Regions from separate parts of the Homo sapiens genome. Here region 1 is linked to region 2. The links are contacts of gene promoters, found by promoter capture Hi-C in blood cells and fetal thymus (Javierre and others, 2016). All regions are on one chromosome and are shown on one strand. The core of a region is centred on a gene start or on the middle of the fragment in contact, and the rest is flanking DNA. Distances in the headings are between cores, read along the strand shown.

Region 1 (3,410 bases), core at 464-2,963, 210 kb after region 2:
TTCTTTTTGGAGTGATGAAAATGTTGTGAATTACACAGATAGTGCTAATGGATGTACAATATTGTTAATGTACTGGAAGCCAATGAATTCCATAACTTTCAAATTTTAAGTTTTATGTTATGTAAATGTTAACAAAAATATAAAAGAAAAGAAAGTATGGTATACCAGTCAGTATTACAGACATTATCATCTAACATATTAAATATATGTTGCTAATTTGAATGTAACTGGTTCTGTGGTTTGTTTTAAATCTGTAAATCTGTTTATAGTTGCACAAGAAGACAACCCTGAGGAATTTACATCTATTTTTACTATTGTTAATATCTGTTACATTAAAATCAAAATAATTTAAATCAATACCAGAGGGCTTGTGAGACACCAACAGCTATTTAAAAGGGGGTTATATATGCAGAAAGTTTGAAAAAAAATTGATATGAAAGGCTCATAAATATTATCTATATCTTATTTCTCTGAAGCTTTAGTAATAAAAGTTTAATGAAAGTGGGAGTTTAATGCAAAATTTGTATCTACTTTATAAATTACTCCAAAACCTTTGAAGATTCTCATTTACGTAACATTCCTACTTGCAAAAACTGATGATCAATTTGAACATAATATCTGCTTAACAAATATATATTCCTTTTATAAAAGAGGAACAAAGATACCAAGAATCGGGTACTGATTTCCTTGTTGGTCCAGGGTACTTTAATTTCTGCTTGATCCTCTACAATTAAACAGGGTTACCAATAAATAACTTCTGATGATTTCAGTGAACCTTTTAATAATTGATGAACTAACTCCAAAAAGAAATACCTTCCCTGGGTTGACAAATGGCAGCTGTTGTAGATGGGGACACTGCAGTGACAGAAGCAGTGATGGGAACAGAGGGAAACAGCCATGAGCTACTTCAGAATCCTAGGAAACTAGACAAGCACAGTCGGAAAAGTACACTAAACTCAGCTCCTGTGGAGTCTGCCAGCAAAACATCAATTAAAAGTCCTTCCTATTACATGCGTACTAAGAGGTTTAATCTTCTTGGTAACTATTACCGTAAGACATTAAAAGTGCTTCAGCCTGAAACATAACAGATCAAGATGTTTTAAAAAGCAAACAGTTTAATGACTGAACTCAACTGTGTTTTGGAAATACATTTAACACATCCAAATAAGACTGATTCATTTATTCGACTAATATGAATTTGTGTATGCTCTATGGTGGTCATATCTACCATTGATTATATAAATTACTCGTTAATCTAAACACTTTCTAGCCATGCCAAAAATTCCACAAGATAAGCAGTTTTGAAACTTTTAACCTCTTATTGTGCTATGCATTAAAAATAAGGTATAATTTTGGAACTAACAGATTAGTCAAAGTCTGAGTCCGTTAAGAGTGATCTAAAGGTTGATGGCAGAGTGAGTTTTTATCTTGCTAAGGCCAGTATGTAACACCAAGGCACTCAGGCCAGTACTGCGTCGCCTAGTTAACCACTCAACAATGCTTCCCCCTCAACTCTCATTTCACCCGCAAAACCACCCTATATGAAGTAAATATTATTCCTCTTTTTCAAATGAAAAAAGAAGAGAAAAACCCCCAGAAAATTCTACCTATAAAGGAGTGAGTGTTTCACACTGGCCACTAATAGGATTACATGATAAAAAAATTCCAGTTTGGGAACTGCCCAGTTAACCAAAGTAAAATCATTTTTAAACAGAAGAACTCCTAAGAGTCTTTAGTATGCTAATATACACCAAAAATGTCTAAGAGAAAGATACAATACATAGTTTCCAACTTTTAAGATCAAATAATCCTTATTGTGGGCAACAGGTGATAGACCAATGAGCCAAAAAAATACTTAGGAAATTCTGCTTTTGTGGCTTCACGAAATTTGAAGAGTCATCAAAATTGGGAGATTAATCTTTTGAGACTATCTTTAGAGTATGTATCATTTAATACATATAGTAACATTGGTGAAAATAAGCATCAAACATTCTTCACAGGGCAGAAATCTAGTGACATGGATACTGGGCAAGACTGCAGACTATGAGATTCAAATTACATCTATGAAACAAAAGGGCAAAAATTGTTCTGTTGATTGACTGCATCTTCTGGACACAGAGACAGAGGCCATGGTAGAAGGAATAATTATCAGTGATCCACAAATGGCTGCTAATCGGAATGACTTGAGGGTGCTGATCTTAAAAAAAATTAACATGCCACAATGAAACCCTGATTCAGTAGGTTCAAGAGTGGTCCCAGGCAATTTTAGCAGAGGTAGGGTTAGCAGACATTAAAAGACTGGAAACTAAAGGAATTTACACTTAGCAAATTGTCTGATAGGTGGTAAGAGCTCAATAAATACTGTTGTTATTTTATGCCCAGTCGATCTTTCCTGTAGCAATTGGGGCAAAAAAGGGTTCTACAAGGTTGTTTTGGAGAGAAATACTCCACAAAAAGGTTTTGAGAAAAGAAAACCCCAAGGGACAGAATAGTGGCAACTACCAAAAAATGAGGAAAGCTGATTGAGTTTGTGGGATTTGCAGACGAGACAGAGAGAGAGAGATTGAGAGAGAGAGAAAGATATCTTGCCCATACCACCCCTCACGTGGACTCTGCATGGGCATGAGAAGGGCCATGGATTTAATTAGTAGGAAGCCCAACACCATTTTATATATAAGAAAACTAAAGCTCTTAAGGTTATTTAACCTTCTACTACACTACTACACCACTACTAAATGGATTAAAATTTAGATCTTGCTTCAAAATTCAATGCTTCCTCCAAATTCGGTCTAATAAAACAAATTCGTCTTAAAGTCCTATCTATGAGAAAAAAGCAAAAGGTCAAGCTAGTCAGTGAAAACTAATGCACACACCAAATATATGAGTTAAGACTATCTGTATTTAATGGAAAGGAGGGAGTACTGGAAAGATACCTGAACATCAAGCTTAAAACTAGAATTTTAATCCTGACTCTCACTATTTGTAGGACTTTAGGCAAAATGTCCAAATTAATTTCCAATTAGTTTGTTCACCTGAAAGAAGCCTGCACCTTGATATAAAAATAAAAAGAAATAATGCATTTGAAAACTCTGTGTAAACTTGGTTGAGACTTTTGGTTCCAGCAATATGGCAAACTAGTTAGCATGGAAACTTCCTGCCACAAACATCTACAGCTGCTATTTAAATATAAAAGTCCTTTTAGATGCCTGGCTGTACTAATCATAGAGTAGTCAAAATCAATTAGGGCCCAAACCTAATAGAACTAAAACCCAGAGCAGTAAGCATGAAAGCTCCTTTGTGACTGTCCTGATGCAAATGGGAAGTGTGGTTTTTGGTCTTGGTAATGCCTACATACAATGCAAATGTCCTTACTTTAGTTTATCATTTCTTATGACCTAATTCCAACAAAC
Region 2 (3,248 bases), core at 520-3,019:
TTGGGACCAGGAGTCTCCATACGGGAGACCATCCCAGCTGAATGAGCTTTGGGCGGGCCCAGGTAATGTTTCCCAGCAAATGGGGGTAGACAGAGGCCTGTGATGCTGAGGTCAGGTGCGTGGCCCCAGAAGGCAGCCAGCAGGGAAGGGACAGTTCTGCAGCACGCACCAAAGGACCCGAGGCTCACGTGTGCAGTGACCTCCTGAGTCATGGATGTCCCTTTCAGCTGCTCCCCTATTCAGTCACAGCTTTCCTCCTTCAGGGAGACCCAGGACACTTTTCACCTAGAGAACCATGTCTGTGCCTAAAGATGGACAGTGGCTGGGGCCTTCCTTAGGAGTTCCTCTAGCCCTTGGCCTTTTTGGTTACTCCAATGTGTGTGTGTAAGGGGGGACAGGTAAATGTGAGGGTTGGTTAAGAGAGGAGAGGGAGACATGGGGCCTCGGGGAAGTTTCTCCTGTGGGCTGGTTTCACTGCTGGCTCTCACACCCAGCAATACCAATAAAACTGATGACAGTAATTAAGACCATATAATCACCGTGTGTTTATTTATCCCCCAGAAGCCTCCTTTCCCTGGCCCCATGATTACCTATTCCATCCTTATGATAGCTGGTGGGGGTTAACTGTGGCTCCAATAAAAAGCAGTAACTGCCTGTGTTTCCACCCCACATGCCCGGACAGCTTTGCTCCCACCCTCTGCAAGGTGGGGGGACACTATTTTCAGAGGGAACAACAGAGGCAGTAAGCTGAAGATGTCAAAAAGAATGAAACCTCACAGGGCAAGTAGTAGAAGCAGCAACGTTTGCCTTCTTTTTTAGAGCCTTCCCCCTTCTTCCTGGCATCTGCCTCCCTCCCAGAGGAACTTATCCGGTTCCATGGCCCTCTGCAGGGCCACTCAGCCTGCAGCTGCTGATCTCTCAGAAGACTGATCAAGCCAAGCATGTAGCCACCAGCCAGCAATAAATACCACTGGGTGATACCAGGAAAGTTACTTTTCACCACTGAGCATCCTATTTCCTACATGGTTAAAAGAAGTTTGCAAAGACTAAGACCTTGCGTGCAAACGTGCATTACAAAATGGCAATGGTTGATACTACTATTAAGGGCCCAGGGTTATTTGTGTACTTGGCTCAGAGGAATAGGTGGAATTTCAAACTTCTGCTGAAGGAGTGTGGGAGCTGAGAGCTCTACCCAGAATGCCTCAAATCATCGCGGTCAGCCTGCCCCGGAGTCAGGGATCTGGAAAGGCATCCCAGAGAGAAGGGAACCCCTGAAACCTGGTGGGGCAAAAAGTCCCTCAGGTTCCCTCTCCCCCCACACCTCCCCCCTTTCCCTCCTGGACCCACTGGTGTGAGACCCGGACTTGCTGGCGCTCAGCCAAGCTTCCTTCCAGCTCCTGACTGAGCCTGCAGAGGAGATCCTTCCCTCTACCCCACCAACCGCATCTCATGCCTTTACCCGGTTCACAGAGGGGAAAATGAGGCGAGAGGGAAAGACACCGGGAAAAGCCAGTGAAGGGTCGCTTAAACTCTGGAGTCCAGATTTTCTTTGTGTGCCGACCCCCGCACTCCCCCTGCTTTTTTGTTACAGCTTCCCACACGCTAATCTTTCCGATTGGGAAGGTGGCTCCACTGTGGGCCCCACGCGCGAGTCCCGCGGCACATCGCCCCTTTAAGGGGCCGGCCTCTCGCCTCCCTGACCTCGCCCCGCCCCCTCCGGGGCTACACTGCGCCTGCGTGGCAAGCCGGAGCCCTGGGGTTGGGCAGCACTCGGTTCCGTGCAACTTTCAAGTGAGTTGCGAACTCCGCCCTGTAGGCCGGTGCTGGTGGCCCGGCGCGCTGGAACCGCGGCGACCCGCTCCAGCGCGGGACCAGCAGCAAGGGCCGAGCGCCAGGTTCTCCGCGGCAGAAAGGGCGGGTGGGAGCTGTAACTGCCCCGGCCGCGGGGCGCGCCCGCTCCCAAGTCGGCTTCCTCCCCGCCGGGGCCGCTTTGCCTCGGGTCTCCCCATTCTCCAGGTCCCCTGAACTGCACAGTCGGAGGCCGTGGGCGGCGGGCTCTGCCTCCGCCGAGGGACAGCCGGATCGCCCCTCTGCTTCCCGCAACTGCCCTGATCACCCCCCGTCCCAGCCCTTGAGTGAACGTCCTTCTGAGCGGCTTCCTGGGGTCCTCCCCACGTCCCAAAGGCCGGCAAGATGGTGTCCTGGATGATCTGTCGCCTGGTGGTGTGAGTATGGCCGCCCTCAGACCTCCTCTACCCCGGGGTGCCGTCCCGCCCCTGTGGTGGAAGCTGTGGACGTCTAGTGGGAGGAGGAACTTTCTGAGCTCCACCCTCCAGCACTCCATGCAAGGGTTAACGGACCTGTGGGCTTGCACGCGGTGTCTGGGGCACCGCAGGCTACCCGCCCCACCAAGCCTCGTTGGCTGAGAACGACCCCTGCCGCACGCCACACACACTGCAAACAGATGCGTGGAGCCGAGGGCCACAGGCCTACCTTGCTGCCCCTTGGCAAACACAAGGTGATATGGCACGTTGTGGGCGGAGAATCCAGGTGCCTGCTTGCCATCTGAGCAGTCACATGACTCACCATCCTATTCCTCACCTTTGAGTATGCCAACATCTGGCTCACATAGCCCTATCTGCAACCCAGCAGTGTCAGGTCTGGTGACCCTGGGCCTGATTGCATGCCCATGGGAGGGGACAGTCTGGTGTTCTCACCCACTTCGTGGAGTGGCTGTCCTCTCACTCCATCATGCACCCATGGGCCACCGGTGCAGGCCTGGGCAGGCTTGGGATGTTTGTAAACAGCAGGGTGGGGAGGTGGCCTCCAGGGCTCTGACTCAGGCACGGGTTGTACAAGCCAAGCGAGAAAAACAGGGCGGGTACTGCCACCTTGCACCCCAGTGGGGGGAAATGGCCACTTGGCAAGGTGGGAGTGGGGCATGGTGCCCCTCACACTCCCCATGGCTGCTCTTCCAGGCTGGTGTTTGGGATGCTGTGTCCAGCTTATGCTTCCTATAAGGCTGTGAAGACCAAGAACATTCGTGAATATGTGAGCGTGGGGGTTTGGGTGTGTTTAATAGGACTTGGTGAGGTGGGGAGGGTCTCAGTTGGCCTCTCCCTCCTCCAGGGGCAAGGCTGTGTGGCACATCCTGAGTGGAGTGGGGAGGGAGAGAGAATGGGCCCTGTTCAAGAGGGTGTAGATAGAGGGCAGGCCATCGGGGTGCCTGTGGAAGATCTGGTGGGTGA

What was found. Contacts are between HindIII fragments. The CHiCAGO score rates a contact against its expected background, and 5 or more counts as called.
Region 1: a contact is called between a fragment that was not itself captured here and the fragment with the promoter of REEP4 in region 2, in 1 of 17 cell types (naive B cells). The highest score is 5.1, in naive B cells.

The regions. Positions count from the first base shown.
Region 1 is chr8:21,935,004-21,938,413 of GRCh38, reverse strand. All of the region lies in intron 1 of XPO7 (exportin 7), which reads right to left. Among named protein-coding and RNA genes, the nearest start is that of XPO7, 17 kb to the right of the region's middle. The HindIII fragment of the contact is 2,469 bases long and covers 479-2,947 here.
Region 2 is chr8:22,140,428-22,143,675 of GRCh38, reverse strand. REEP4 (receptor accessory protein 4) reads left to right here and starts at 1,769. Exons shown (of 8, transcript NM_025232.4): 1 at 1,769-2,225; 2 at 2,979-3,051. The coding sequence starts at 2,194. RefSeq lists silencers at 1,726-1,855, 1,866-2,015 and an enhancer at 2,780-3,248. The HindIII fragment of the contact is 1,867 bases long and covers 1,386-3,248 here.